2 separate regions of the Homo sapiens genome follow, and region 1 is linked to region 2. The links are contacts of gene promoters, found by promoter capture Hi-C in human tissues and cell types (Jung and others, 2019). All regions are on one chromosome and are shown on one strand. The core of a region is centred on a gene start or on the middle of the fragment in contact, and the rest is flanking DNA. Distances in the headings are between cores, read along the strand shown.

Region 1 (7,830 bases), core at 3,858-6,357, 140 kb after region 2:
TGATTTCATTTATGCAGATCTACTTAAGGAGTTGCACCTTCTAGGAGTACTATGATCTAAAGCCTACATGTGAGGGGGGAAGCGTTTATAGTAAAAAATATCCTTGGCCAGGCACGGTGGCTCACGCCTGTAATCCCAACACTTTGGGAGGCCGAGGTGGGCAGATCACGAGGTCAGGAGTTCAAGACCAGCCTGGCCAACATAGTGAAACCTATCTACTAAAAGTACAAAAAAAAATTAGCCGGGCGTGCCGGTGGGCGCCTGTAGTCCCAGCTGCTTGGGAGGCTGAGGCAAGAGAATCGCTTGAACCCAGGAGGCAGAGGTTGCAGTAAGCCGAGATCACGCCACTGCACTCCAGCGTAGGTGACACAGCAGGACTGTGTCTCAAAACAACAACAACAAAATATATATATATATCTCCTTAAAAGCCCTTGGAAAGACTTAGAAGCCAACTTGACTATGGTTTTAAACAATAGGTCTACAACAGCTTACTTCCTCCAGCATTAAAACGGATTCCTGGTTCTTTGAGTATTATGTCAAGTGGCTTGCTTATGTTAGGGTTTATTCCATATATATGTGTATGTACACACATACACATACACACTTCTTTAAATACCAGATTCATAATCTGTCTGGGGAGTCAGTGTTACCATGAGAGATACCTGGAGTTGAAACAGAAGAAGAAAGCAGACTTCTTTCCACCTTTGCCAGCCTCACGCAACAGGAGGCGGAATCTATCTACATGTGTCGTACTTTCTCTTTTCAATACATTTACAGTTGAAGTCACATGGGTTAAGTGCACGCAATATGTAAACTCTATTGTATAAATTAACAGATGTTTGGATTTAAAGGACTTAGTCTAACCAAATCCACATAGAGTAGAACTTCTGGTTAGGAACTTTCTAATATGTTCTACGCTGGCTAGAACCAGAACAAGATCTGCTCTTTCAAGGTGAGAAAAAGAAAACCTTTTGAGTTGCAAACAAAAACAGCCAAGACTAATGAAAGATAAACAAATCATACTCAGTTCAGTCAGTTTTCCAATCAGGAAAAAAAGTATGTTTTGATTAGTTAGTATCTACAAGTATCAGTTCTTTCATGTAAAAATCGAGAAGCAACAGGACTTTCAGAAAGCAGAGGAGATTCCACATATATAATTTTTCACTGACCTTAGTGAACTCTGAATTTTGAACCCCAGAGGCCACTTCACCACACTCTCCGGACAGCAGCTTCCCTGTCCCTCCATGTCACCTAAACCTGATTCAGTGGTGCTCTTCTGTCTTGAATGGCTGATTTTTCTCATCTGAGTCTCTTTGGTAGCCCTTCCTCCTGTACCCGATCCTTAAGTGTTTGCTGGTTCAGTGCTCTATTCACTACAGTAACATGTCAGCCATCCTTTAATGATGGTATTCTCCAATATGTCCTCATCATTCTTTCTTGTATTTATTCCCTATACCTACTCTGTTTCCTACACATGCTTTGTTTCCTATAGATTCCTAACTAAAATTAAAACCATCATCAAAATCCTAAAATCACATCTTCAGCTCTGGCTATTGAGTCATATTTCCAACAGCCTCCTCTACCTGGACATCCCATAGACACGGAAATTACCTAAAAAACGAAACCAGTATCTTGCCCACTGATTCAGCACCTCTCCTGGAGTCCTGACTTCAGTTCCTGGCATTACCAGTGACATACTTGCTGCCCTAGAAGCCCAGGGCCAATCTTGACAATCCCCTCTCTCTTCTTACCAAGGTCTACCAATTCTTCCTTTAAAACATTAACTTTTTTCCCCTTTTTCCTATACTCCACCCTGGTTTAGTCCTCTCCATCTCTCTCCAGGTTATTGCAAAAGCTTCTTGATTGAGTACCATTCTTCCCATCTTTCCTCCCTTCAATGCTAACTCCACCTGGCAGCCAGTCAGCAGCTCACACAGATCAGATATGGTTCTGCTGAAACCCTTCAGTGGTTCTTCATTACCTCCAGAATAAAGTCCTACCTTCTCAGTGCGGGCCATCCCAGAACCTCTACAACTGGACACAGGCCATCTCTTTAGTCATGCTTCACACCTGCCTCCCCTGAATCTCTAGGTCACAATTTTCTTTTTATACTACTTTTCATTTCTCCCAAACACGTCAATGGGTTCACACTGCTCCTTGGTCTGAGAATCCCCTACCAATTTTCCAGGAGTGAACATGCCCAGACGGTACCCTCTCTGTGAAGACTTCCCTAAGTTTCTCAGGCAGAGTCTGTCCTTTCCCCTACTCGGCTTCCACAGTACCTGCACCTGCCTATGATTTTCTGCAGTATACTACATTCATTTTCTTGTCTGGTTTTCTCATTCACCTTTGCATCACTGGGACCCAGCACATAACAGGTACTCAACAAATCTTTGCTAAAACAATATACAGGTCAGAGGAGAAGAAGAAAAATCATAGAGAACAAAAACAGAATCAGACAGTGAGAAGCTAAAAATGAAATGGAAAGGGAAGTGACTAAGAAAAGAAAGAATTAGACATAAAACGGAGTGGCCAAATTAGTCTCTTTAGGAGTCAGGCAGCAAAGAACAGAACCGACAAAGAATTGAGGAAGTGATGTGAACAGCAAACTGAGCTAAACTTTCATGTGGGTGATTTGTCCCTTCTGATATGATAATTTCTGGTATTTTCTCATTTTTCTTTACCGCTGAATTTCTCTATTGAAAGATGATCTATATGAAAACAAAACTGGAATTAATCAAAATGTTCAATAGTAATGGAATTGCTTAATAAATAACAACGTACCAATATAAAACAAAAATCAGACATGACAAAAGAAGAGCATTCCAGATACTTGAGAAAAGAACTTGTGATTGTGACAGAATTGTTCTGAGACTTGGGGAGTTAGCAGGGAAGGAGTGAAAAGCTTCACTCAAGGTAGCAGCTGCTGCTGATTCAGGAGCCTCTACTCTGTATGTGTAGCTAAGTGACTGTAAAGGTAACCCAACGGGTACCTGAACCTCAAACCCCCTGAGGGAACAGGGTACCATGATGCAGTCACAGCCAGTGAGTGCCCTGGGTTTGGGAATAAGGAGATCCTCATTGTCCACACTAAGTGCAAGGAAAGAAATTACGCAGCCCACAAGAATGCCATCTGGGTTAAAGAGATACAGAAACACATTACTGCACAATCATTTTCAATTTTAAAAAGCAAATTAAATAAAAAGGTTTATTTGGGGCCGGGCATAGTGGCTCACGCCCGTAATCCCATCAATTTTGGGAGGCCAAGGTGGGAGGATCACCTGAGGTCAGGAGTTTGAGACCAGCCTGTCCAAAATGGCGAAACCCCGTCTCTACTAAAAATACAAAAAATTAGCCAGGTGTGGTGGCAGGTGCCTGTAATCCCAGCTACTTGGGAGGCTGAGGCAGGAGAATCACTTGAAACCCAGAGGCAGAGGCTGCAGTGAGCCGAGATCGTGTACTGTACTCCAGCCTGGGTGACAAGAGTGAAACTCCATCTCAAGAAAAAGAGGTTTATTTGGAAAATTATTCTCCACAATGGTGTCTTCTCTGGTGACTGGAGATGACAGCTTTGACCATAATGAGAGTTGTGTTATGATCCACAGAAGAGCATGGGATTAGCAACCAGAGGAAGGCTGTCCTGGTACCAGCTGTCTTAAACATTAGTCCTGTGACCCTGCTCCAGTCACAGATGTCAATTTCACCGAAAAGAAAATGGAAGCTTAGAGCAGTTTTTTAATACCTGTCAGCTGTTTGCCTTATCCACAGAATCATCAAAGGACTAAGACAGTATTTGTATGAAAGTATATAAAAACTGCAAAGCATGACGCAGTGTCTTCAACTACTTCATATTAACTTCACAAGTACTGTAGTATTAATCAGTTCTGGTTTGGTGGTTATCTAATGTTTATTTCTGCAATCCTAGCTCTATCATTAAAAGGTAATATGACAAATAAGTATATTTAACAACATATATCATCTAAGTAATTTTCTGTAAACATGTTATCATACAACATAAATACTGAGTGTTTTAATTACAAGTACAAAACAATACAATGTCTGGATTCTACCTCTAGATATCCAAGAATTTTAATTATAAACACTAGTTTAGATTCTACAATGGAGAATATAAAAAGTCAAATAAAAACATAACCTATTTTGAGTGTACAGCTCTCACAACTATGAAACAGGTTCTACTGTTATGCCCATTTTGCAGATGAAGAAACCAAGGCCCAGAGAGGCTAAGGAGATCTCCAAGGTCACACAGGAAGCAAGCAGAAAAGCCAGAATTCAAAGTCAAGCAGTCTATGGCTAGAGAGTGTGCTTTTCACCATTAGATAGCTTTGCCTATTATTGCCTCAAGTGCCTTTGTAAACAGGCCACTGTGTTACTTCTGGAAAATTAGGAGCCCTCTGTCCCTCCCCTTTACCTGTGCTCCCACTGCAGCTTGGGCTGACTTCTGTGAAGCTACACTCTTTACTAGTTGCTCCCTTACAAGACCATGAACTTTCTAAGAGCAGGCCCCATGTATCCCTATATTCTCGAAGTCCAGCCCTGCCGGTGAGTTCTGAATGTAAGGGTAAACTTTGCGTACAATTAGCGCGATGCTAATAGGCTGGGGAATGGTTTTAAATGATACACTAAAGAAATACTAACCACAACAACAAAGTTTCATAAGGTAAATATCTTGAAAGCTTTGTCTTACCTCCTTCTCACCTACTCCTGCGTAAGTGGCTTTATTTTAGGGATTAGGATCCTTCTACTTTATAGTATAAGGCAGTTTACAAAGGTCTTGCACACATTACTTCATACAATTCTTGCAACAATCATGAGAGTTAAACAGAGCAATTAATGGTGTCCATATTTTGTCCATTTTCATATTATGAAAAAACTGAGGTTCACAGAAGTTGAGAGACTTGTCCAAAGTCATTGAAAAGCTAAGTGACAAATTGGGAATAGTACCTAGTCCAGCGTGCTCTCTCCCCTACATCAAAATGATCAACCATCTCTCTGACAATTATAATTTGGCTGTGATTCATGGTGAAGGAGGTAGGAGGGTACAGTGCCTCACTGCCAGAGCCATCGAGTTAGCCTCGCTGCTTCTGCTCTGCCAGGACCATTCCCACCTTTTCCTGGAGAAGGCTGCATTTCCCAGAGCGCCACTCAATCTCCAGTGCCGAGGTATACCTGCGTTTCAGTGTTTCGCTTGTTTTTATTTTGTTAAACATTGCTCTCTAGAATTCTATAGACCTATCTGAACTTATCTGTCCTATAATTTTGGCTACAGTTGACTGGTTAATTATTTAGCAAAGCCACTGTTCTTTACCTATGGGTATCACCAAGAACTCTGACAGCTAAGTACATCTTAACTTCTGTCAGACTTTTGCAGTATTTCATTCCTTCTAAGCAAAACAGTCACTCTCATTTGTTATGCCAAACATCTACCTCTACGTTTTAAAAATAAGTATTTTTCCAATAATCCAAATATTTACTTTCTGAACACTGATTTCAGTTTTTAAGATGTCAATTAATCTTAGTTCATTTATCCCAATCTTACCAGGAAGAAATATCATTCAGTAAAAGTTTTTTAAAAATAGACACTTTGGGAGGCCAAGGCGGGTGGATCCCAATGTCAAGAGATGGAGACCATCCTGGCCAACATGGTGAAACCCCGTCTCTACTAAAAATACCAAAATTTGCTGGGCATGGTGGTGCACGCCTGCAGTCCCAGCTACTTGGGAGGCTGAAGTAGGAGAATTGCTTGAACCCAGGAGGCGGAGGTTGCAGTGAGCCAAGATCGCACCACTGTACTCCAGCCTGGTGACAGAGCGAGACTCTATCTCAAAAAAAAAAAAAAAGAAACATTTTACTATTATAGCATAAACAAGTGCTTAACATTAGAAGAACTATGTTTTGACAACTGTGAATTTTCTTTTTTTTTTGAGACAGGGTCTCACTCTGTTGCCCAGGCTGCAGCCCAGTGGCACAATCTTGGCTCACTGTATTTTTTATAGAGACAGGGTTTCACTATGTTGCCTAGGCTGGTCTTGAACTCCTAGGCTCAAGCAATCCACCCGCCTTGGCCTCTCCAAGTGCTACGATTATAGGTGTGAGCTACCGTGCCCAGCCGTCAACTGTGAATATGTAATATGAGGAAAATAATACCAATCATAAATCCAAATCAATTCCTCCAGCACATACGTACATATATATATACTTTTTTTTTGGAGACACAGTCTTGCTCTGTCACCTGTTGCCCAGGCGTGAGTGCAGTGGCACGATCTCGTCTCACTGCAACCTCCACCTCCACCTCCTGGGTTCCAGCAATTCCCCTGGCTCAGCCTCCAAGTAGCTGGGATTACAGGCGCACACCTCCACGCCCAGCTAATTTTTTGTATTTTAGTAGAGACAGGGTTTCACCGTGTTGCCCATACTGGTCTCGAACTACTGAGCTCAGGCAATCCACCCGCCTCAGCCTCCCAAAGTGCTGGGATTACAGGAGTGAGCCACCGCGCCCAGCCCCTCCAGCATATTTTTACATGATATCATCTCCTACCACAGAATTGCTCTGTGATCCAGAACTTAAATTCAGAAAAAGCATAGTATAAATTGCTTTTTCTTCACCCCTAAAAGAAAAAACACAATGTTTAATTATCTTCTAAGAAAGCTTATTTTAGAAATAAGAACCAAAGATTAAAAAGTATTAATTAAAAGTAATGAGTAATCATAAATATATTTATATGTTCAGTAATATGTCTAAATATATCTTTCTTAAAATAGCATTGAGCATTTAAAAATTTGGAAAGTAATACTGGTTAACTGTTAGGAAAATATGAAACATGCATATCTCCATAGTCTTAAATAACATAAAACTTTAGTAAACTTTATTAAGGTTACACTAAAATATTAAATAAGCTTATTGAACAGAGACACACTCTTGTACCAGGCCAATTAGTAATCAGCTTTTCTGGGACTCAATCATACAACAGCAATTCTGCCTTCCTAAGTCAAACATTAAGTAAAGAACCATTTCACACAGTATATTCAAGTTTTTAAGATGTTTGAAAAAATGTTTATAGTCTCATTTAGAGGAGTAAAGAGTAGAATATTTACACATGTATAGATGGAAAACAGGTATAAACAAAGGAGTGACTTTTTCCAAGGTCATAAGGTTATAAAGCAAAGGATTACAAATGAGAATAGAATATCATTAATTTGACAGTCAATGCTATATAGGCTTTCCAGAGACTTCTTTTATGCAAGTAGTCCCCAAATTGGAGCACAAATGAGCTGCTAGGATTGAATTTCAGAGCGTAAACTAAGTTAAAGTTAAAAACTGTCAAAAGCCAAGACACTGAACTGATCAAAAACCAAAATAAGTAACTTTTCATTGTTCGTTTGGTCTATATATACTAATTAAGTAAAGCAAGTGAGAATTTTAAAAGCAAAGCAATAGTTTGTCAGAAGTAGCTAATTTTACTTTGTATCTGGTTTGTGGTTACTCCAAGTAATTTCCCGGTTTTATTATTTTTATTTTTCTTTGTGAACAAATTAATTGGCTCTAGATCATAATTTTAGAATCAGTCACCCTTTAATCATCCATTTGGTTAAGTTTGGGGCCACTGGGATAACTATGTGATATAGGTGAAGACTGGTTAAATGAAAACATATTTTAATAAAAATGTATTTGTAAGAAGAAACTGACAAATTTTCAGTTACACAAAGAATAAGACATAGGTAATATGAATAGTTAAAACCTTCGTCCCACTCGAAATCTTTTAAGGGTATTGCTAAAAATTCAGTTGACTTTTCTGGGTTTCATTCTTCCTG
Region 2 (7,575 bases), core at 4,953-7,452:
GCTGGAGATATATCTTACTCTGCCTTATATTCTACTTATTTACTCACTAATCTCATTTCAAACATCCCCCTCTCCACCTCACCCCGAATCCAAAGTAGAAGGGCATGGCCTCAAGTCTAGGGACCACACCGTTTGAGGCTGGACACATGTGCAACACTGGAACCTGTCTTTCTAATAAGCTTACCAAGTAATCCTGATGGAAATCTTCACCCTAAGTCACCACCTCTACAACTAGGGGTCTCAGAGATGAAAGCCAGGGCAGAGGGAGACTCTTACCTACCCCTTGGGAGACGGAGAAAGACACAAGAATCCTAAAAGCAGCTGTGGCTCCAGCATCTGGGAAGGGAATGGGACAGAAAGTGCCTCCAAGATGGACTCTGTCCTACTCTTCTTTCAATCCCCAGACCTTAACACTGGGCATGGCACGTAGTCGGTGTTTAGTAAGTGCCTGCTGAGCAGCTTGTTTCACTCATGGCACCATCCCTGGCAGGGAAAGAAATAGCAGCAGAGTCACCAATGCATGTAACCTGCCTGCAGCAAGAAGTGCCCCAGACAGGAGGCTGCAAAGCTTTAGAGCAGGGCCTTCAGCCTAATCCAGGTAGGTGGGTGGAAACCAAACACAGCCTGCTCCAGAGCTACAGGGCAAGTGCTGGCGTAGAAGCCAAAATATGTTATTTCCTTGTGCGGTTTCATGAGACTAGGCAAATCAGCACAGAACCTGGAAGGATCCCAAGTGTACCACTCTTCCTCTCTGTATTAAGTGTCCTGGAGCAAGAGCAAGCTGCTGTCACTTTGTGAGCTAGATACATACTTACTAACTTTCAAGATAAGTACAGGGTGCTCCTGAAACACATACTGTAAGAAAGGGAAGGGGGATGATGAAGAAGGTGACATACTTTGCAAGAAGCCAGAGGACCCACTACCAATATTCCAAGTCAAAGAAAGCTTTGGACAACAGATGGGATTTCTTGAGCTATTTGAACAAAGATGTTAATTCATATCTAATCCCTCCATTGCCTCATCTTCTAAGTCCTGTCCCACTCCAATTACTCCTGCACAAAGCTACCAATACAAGGGCCCCAAATTCTTCCTTTGTCAAATCATGGGCTGCTCAGATCCCAAGTGGCTGCCAGTACTAACCTCAGGCCCACGCTTCAGGTTACGCCCACCGTCACATCCACAATAGACACCTTGACCCTGGTGTTTCCAAAGGGCTCCCTTCAAACATCTACTGCAAGCACAACACACCACATGTACACTTTATCTTGGTTTTTTTTTTTGCTAAAGGACAGGCAGAGAGCTAAGCCTCCAGCACAGCAGCTGGAAGGATTAAAGGCTCAGATGCTGAGAAGGCCCACTTTCTGGTAATTCCACCAAACCTCAGCCCAGGACAGAGAGAAACTGCCAAGGGAAGAACTATGAACAAACAGGCTCTCCAACTCCCTCAGTGACAAAGCAGGGGAAGGGAAATTCCCAGTGAAGTGAAACATAACTGCTCACCGCAGCAAAGATGGGAGACAATGACTTGAGATAGACAGCAACTGCAGTTGCACTTCCAGATTTCTTTACATCTTGCTCCAAAATGTAGGTCCCTCTGAAGTTTTAAAGTACATTTTAAGAAAGTATTAATATCTCACTAACTATGAAATACTAGAAACTGATTAAAGTCAAGTCAAAGAGGAAGAGTTTTTTATCTCGGGTTTAATAGGTTGTGCCAAAAACAGAAGCTCTGAGTATTTACCAGCTAAACCCCACTAGGTCCGAGAGCCACTGAGAGTAGCATCTGTCTCGGGATAAAATGGGGTGTTTAGTTGAAATGCAGACTATTAATGGACCTAATTTCTGGGATGAAACCCATTAATCTGCATTTTTAACAAGCTTTCCTGGGGACTGATCCTTCAAACAAAGTTTGAGAACAGTTCTGTTCCTGGAGTACTCTGATCCTGGAGTACCCGCCTAGTCAATTCATGTCACTTTCCAAGGACACTTCAGGCTTCCCAAACACATTGGAAAATAACACATGTAAGGTGAAAGCTCCCCAAATGCCCTTTTCATATTGCTTTGAATTGATCTACCCCAGCTGCTGTGCAGGTCCCTGGCTTATTTCTGTATCCCCAGAGCCTGGAACACAGTTGGTACTCAATGAAGAATTGCTACCAGCCTGGGCAACATAGAGAGGCCCTGTCTCTACAAAAAAAAAAAAAAAAAAAAAAAAAATTTAAATTAGCAAACGTAGTGGTGCACAACTGTAGTCCCAGCTACTCGGAAGTCTGAAGCAGGAGGATTACTTGAGTCCAGGAAGCTGAGCCTGTAGTGAGCCATAATCATACCACTGCACTCCAGCCTGGGCGACCTTACATGATTTTGAGCCTGGAGTCCAGAGAACTGCATTTCAATACTGGTTTAAAAGCAAATATGGCCCGGGCGTGGTGGCTCAAGCCTGTAATCCCAGCATTTTGGGAGGCCGAGGCGGGCGGATCACGAGGTCAGGAGATCGAGACCATCCTGGCTAACATGGTGAAACCCTGTCTCTACTAAAAATACAAAAAAAATTAGCCAGGTGTGGTGGTGCACACCTGTAGTCCCAGCTACTCGGGAGGCTGAGGCAGGAGAATCACTTGAACCCGGGAGGCGGAGGTTGCAGTGACCTGAGATCATGCCACTGCACTCCAGCCTGGGTGACAGAGACTCCATCTCAAAAAAAAAAATTAAAAATGAAAAAGCAAATATGGTGATCAATCACCTTCATTTCTTCTTTTCTTCTTTTGATGGAACTTCTCAGAATCTTTCTTTTTAAAGAAGAGCTTTGTAGTGGATTTTTGTCATCTGGAGTGCTTTTGGCGGGGGCATGGGGGATACCCAACATCTGAGACCACGTTTGTGAGCTGGGTGGGAGGCAGCCCTGCCTTGCATTGTGAGGTCAGCTGAGGCGCCCAAACTGTGTCCTGGTGGAGCTGAGCCATGCTGGGCCAATCAGAAGCTTTCTTCTGGGCCTGGGCCTGCGCACTCTGAAGCAGGACAGTATCTAATTCATTCCAGCAATGATGGCAGCAATGCCAGTAGCCACATCCAGGGTCCTGTTCTGGCAGCCGCAGCCACCCACCCATCAGGGGTCCTGTGGCATGTCCTAGATTCCTAAGCCTGGCTAGCCAGCCTTGCTGCCACTTACCTAAGCCACCCAGGGACCATCCTTTCAAGAAGTCCTTTTATATATATACATATACATATATATATGTATATGTATATATATTTTTTTATTATACTTTAAGTTCTAGGGTACATGTGCACAATGTGCATGTTTGTTACATGTGTATACATGTGCCATGTCGGTGTGCTGCACCTATTAACTCGTCATTTACATTAGGTATATGTCCTAATGCTATCCCTCCCCACTCCCGCCACCTGACAACAGGCCCCGGTGTGTGATGTTCCCCTTCCTGTGTCCAAGTGTTTTCATTGTTCAATTCCCAACAAACGGTGCTGGGAAACCTGGCTAGCCATATGTAGAAAGCTGAAACTGGATCCCTTCCTTACACCTTATACAAAAATTAATTCAAGATGGATTAAAAACTTAAATGTTAGACCTAAAACCATAAAAACCCTAGAAGAAAACCTAGGCAATACCATTCAGGACATAGGCATGGGCAAGGACTTCATGTCTAAAACACCAAAAGCAATGGCAACAAAAGCCAAAATTGACAAATGGGATCTAATTAAACTAAAGAGCTTCTGCAGAGCAAAAGAAACTACCATCAGAGTGAACAGGCAACTTACAGAATCCAAGAAGTCCTTTATCTGATAAAAATTACCCCCGACTCAGCTTCCACTGTTTTAACAAAGTATCTTGACCCTTAACAAATCTCAGAAATAGCTCTTTGCTCCCTGAAAAACCTATTTCCTTTATATTTTAAACAGTACCAACTTGGTTTAAAGTTTTCAGCTTGTCCTCTGATGCATTTGTTCACCTCATTGTACTAAAACACAAAGAAACTGTCTCGTATAAAAATCAGAAGGAAGTTTAGAAATCAGAAAGAAGTTTAGAAAAGTTTAGAAATCAGAAGGAAGTTTAGAAAAAAATTATGGAACACATGAAAAAAAAAACAAGAATAAACTAAAGGGCACTGCTGAATAGACAGACAACAGCAACAGTAAGGGGGCTCTGGTCCCCCTTACTAACTCTGCCAAGATGACAGTTGTTTGAATTCTCCAACCCTTCTTCTGCTCCTCTGTCAAAGGAGGATTTCGCATAGGGTTCGCAGGCTAGCGATCTAATAGGTAAAGCACCTGGCACGCAGCTGGAAGGCTATCTGGGGTCTGTCTGCTTCTGCTAGCATCAATACTCTGAGCTCAACTCCACCGGGGCTCCTAGGATAACCGGGACAGAAAGGACGGTGAGAAAAGAAAAATGAGTAACATCACACAAGTTGAATCATATGAGGTTGACGATATTCACATCTTCCATCCAAAAAACCGACAATTTCTTATGATTCAACCCAACATATCGCAGCGGTTGTTCGTGTCGCATGAGTCTCGGGGGGCACTCAAGAACTACGATCGTGCACTTGCTTTCTTAACAAAGAACAGCTGCCGCCCTCAGGAACTCCAGCAAACCTTTCTCCAGAAAGGTCAGTCGCCTTAGCGGGCTCCAGGAGCAACCTGTTGCAGAATGAAGCCTGGGGCGCCGGCTTCCCCGCCCTTTACCTCCAAACCACCTCCAGGCCAAGCCCCCTCCAGGCCTAGCTCCCTTCTGGGCGGAAGCCTCTCGCGAGCTGCGGGACACAAAAGAATGAGCGGCGGGGCGGGCGCGGGAAGCCAAGAGACTCCAGGAATTCGCAGCCGCGCAGGGGAGGGGGTTGCCGGAGTAACTTGGCTGCTCTGAGCGCGTCGGCGCCAGTTCCCCGCCGCGGCCCCTGTTGGGCACCGATCGGGGGCGATCTTGCCAGAGAGAAGGGGTTCTGGAGCTAGTTCCTCCCTCCGATCCGACTCCCTGCCCCTCCAGACACGGGCTTTCGGGGAAACTGATCCCGAGCCTCTGACTTTCTACAGCCGTGAAGCTCCTGGTCTGTCCACGCTCCTCTTTGTTGTCCGGTCGGCGTGTTCTGGCAGGGTGCGCCTTGAGCACCCCAGTTCTCCATCTAGCGATAGCCGCGGGTCCCCGCGCATGCAAGCAGAAGGGCCGTGGAGCGAGAGGCTGGGAAGGTGCTTCAAGCCAGGGGTGCATGCTTTCTCCCACGGACGCGGGGAGATGGCCTCGCTTTGTACCCCCATATCCCTACTCCCGCTGTGGTCGGCTGCACAGTGTTGGCCCATTTCCGCACTCAGCCAGGGAAGCTCAGCGCCTCACGTCCCCGGGGCCATCCCTAGAGTTTCCTTTACCGCAGACTCGTTCCCAAGACCCTGGCGAGTCTCACCTCGGTCACCGTTCTCCCCGAGAGCGAGTCCGAAGTCTCTGGGGCCCCGGTCCAGTTCGCACACTCACCTCCGACTCCCGCTCCGGAACCACGGCCGCCGGCTACCCCCACCCCCGCCCCCATCCCCAGTGGATGGAAAGAAGACCCAAGCGGGGCGTCGCGGGCCACCACTCAGACTAAAAAGTTTGGGTTGGACGGGCACCGGCACCACCACGCTCTCCCCGCAGTTCCTCTGGCCCCCAGCCGCTGTCCGGGCCCGCACCACCTGCTGAGGGGCCAGGGAGGCGGCGCAGATGGCTAGGGTAAGGGGGGCGCAGAGCGAACCCGTCCACTCCTCACTGTACACCCCCAGTACAGTGGAAGGAGTGCGCTCAGCCCCGCGCCTGGTCAGCAGATGCCTCTCTCGCTCCGGGATGAGGACCCAGCTACTCACCGTGCACCCGGCTCCCGCTCCTGCTCCCGCCCTAGTCACCGCTGCCGCCGCCCTTCCCTTAGCTCGCCAGACCCTGGCTCGTGAATTATTTATGACCCGGCTTCTGGGACCACCGCGACGGCTTTCGGAGAGCCCGCCTCCCACTGCCGGCCGCGGAGGGGCTCAGGCGGCGCTGCGGCCGGACCCTCGGACGTGGCGGGAGGCAGGAGAAAGGCCCGGGTGCCCGGGGGGACCCGTTGCGGCTTCCTCTGTCCCGGACGGGGACCTAGGTATGGGGCCGCCGTAATGGAAAGGATTCCTTAAACATACTCACCGCGGCGGGAGAGCTGAGAGCATGGCCAGGTGCCGCGTGGGGATCTGCCTCAGTCACTTAAAGATCGCGAAACCCGAGCCCTGGACGCACTCTGATTGGACCGGCTGAGCTGCTTCGCCACGTAGCCCTGGGGCGCCCACCAGCACCTGGACAGCATCCATTTCCTGTAGAGGTGCCTGCTCAACCCCCTGCACTCCCTTCTTGCAACGCTTGCGCCTCTTTTCCCCCCGCAGAGTCCCTTACTTAGAATGCAGCTACCCTCCTAAAAACTCTCCTGTCTCATCCCGGCCGCATTAGACCCTTCTGTTGCCTAATCCCAATGCAATTTAAAACAAAACAAAACAAAACAAAACAAAACAAAAAACAAAAAAACAATCATTTGGATCCTTAGTGTGCAGCAGTACCAATGCTAGTGGCTGAAGCGGTTGAAAAACAGCATAAAGCCATATTCGCTCCCATGTGTACACACAGGCATCTGCTATAACGTGAAGCCACTGCAACTTCTTTTCTCACTGCCTATTGGTCTTCCCGCTCTGTGAGTTACAACTCAACCTCGGAGTCTTCACCTTGCTACTTAGCTGAGTGGTGGAAACCTGTCAGAAGTAATCACTCGGTGTCTAAGTGTCCTCACCAATTTGCACTTCACTCTTATTCACCACTTCTTATCTTGAATTGAGAATACTGTACTCTCCGGCAGGCAAAAAAAAGACTTAGGGAAGAAATGCACCTTCAGGATGGTGTCTAGCATACAGCAGGTGTTTAATACATGTTTGTGATATGGATAGACAGATGAAAGGATGGATGCACAAGCTACAAATGAATGATAGACAGGAACATTAAGTCAGTACCTTTTTCTTTTTACCCCAGAATCTAACATAAAACAGGTACTGGAAAATAAGCATTTTTTGTTTTTAATAGTTAGATTGATCTTGAGTGTGTATATTTCTAGACAAGAAATGTTAGTTCAGAAAACTTCCAAAAAGTACAGTAGGACATGGCAAGGTTAGATGGTTTGGCTCTGTGTCCCCATCCAAATCTCATATTGAATTATAATTCACTGGGAGAGGGACCTAGTGGGAGGTGATTGGATTATGAGGGCGGATTTCTCCCTTGCTGTTCTCATGATAGTGAGTGAGTTCTCAGGATATCTGATGATTTAAAAGTGTGTGGCACTTCCCCTTTGCTCGCTCTGTCTCTCCTTCTGCCATGTGAAGATGTGCTTGCTTTCCCTTCTTCCACCATAATTGTAAGTTTCCTGAAGCCTCTCTGGCCATGCCTACGGTACAGCCTCTGAAACCCAGTCTCAGGTAGTTCTTTATAGCAATGTGAGATCAAACTAATATGGGTGGAAAACAAATCTCTTCTAATCAGGGCAGATTTCCCCTCTGCAGCCCCTGCAGGTCAGAAGTTTCTGGTTG

The links. Contacts are between HindIII fragments. The study calls those that stand out against the background at their distance.
Region 1: a contact is called between a fragment that was not itself captured here and the fragment with the promoter of PROM1 in region 2, in 2 of the 25 tissues and cell types used here (H1 embryonic stem cells and dorsolateral prefrontal cortex).

What each region holds. Positions count from the first base shown.
Region 1 is chr4:16,214,905-16,222,734 of GRCh38, forward strand. All of the region lies in intron 1 of TAPT1 (transmembrane anterior posterior transformation 1), which reads right to left. Among named protein-coding and RNA genes, the nearest start is that of TAPT1, 7.7 kb to the right of the region's middle. The HindIII fragment of the contact is 5,454 bases long and covers 2,381-7,830 here.
Region 2 is chr4:16,077,821-16,085,395 of GRCh38, forward strand. It overlaps PROM1 (prominin 1), which reads right to left and starts at 6,203. Exons shown (of 28, transcript NM_006017.3): 1 at 6,158-6,203. RefSeq lists enhancers at 1-43, 1,389-1,478. The HindIII fragment of the contact is 8,177 bases long and covers 2,430-7,575 here.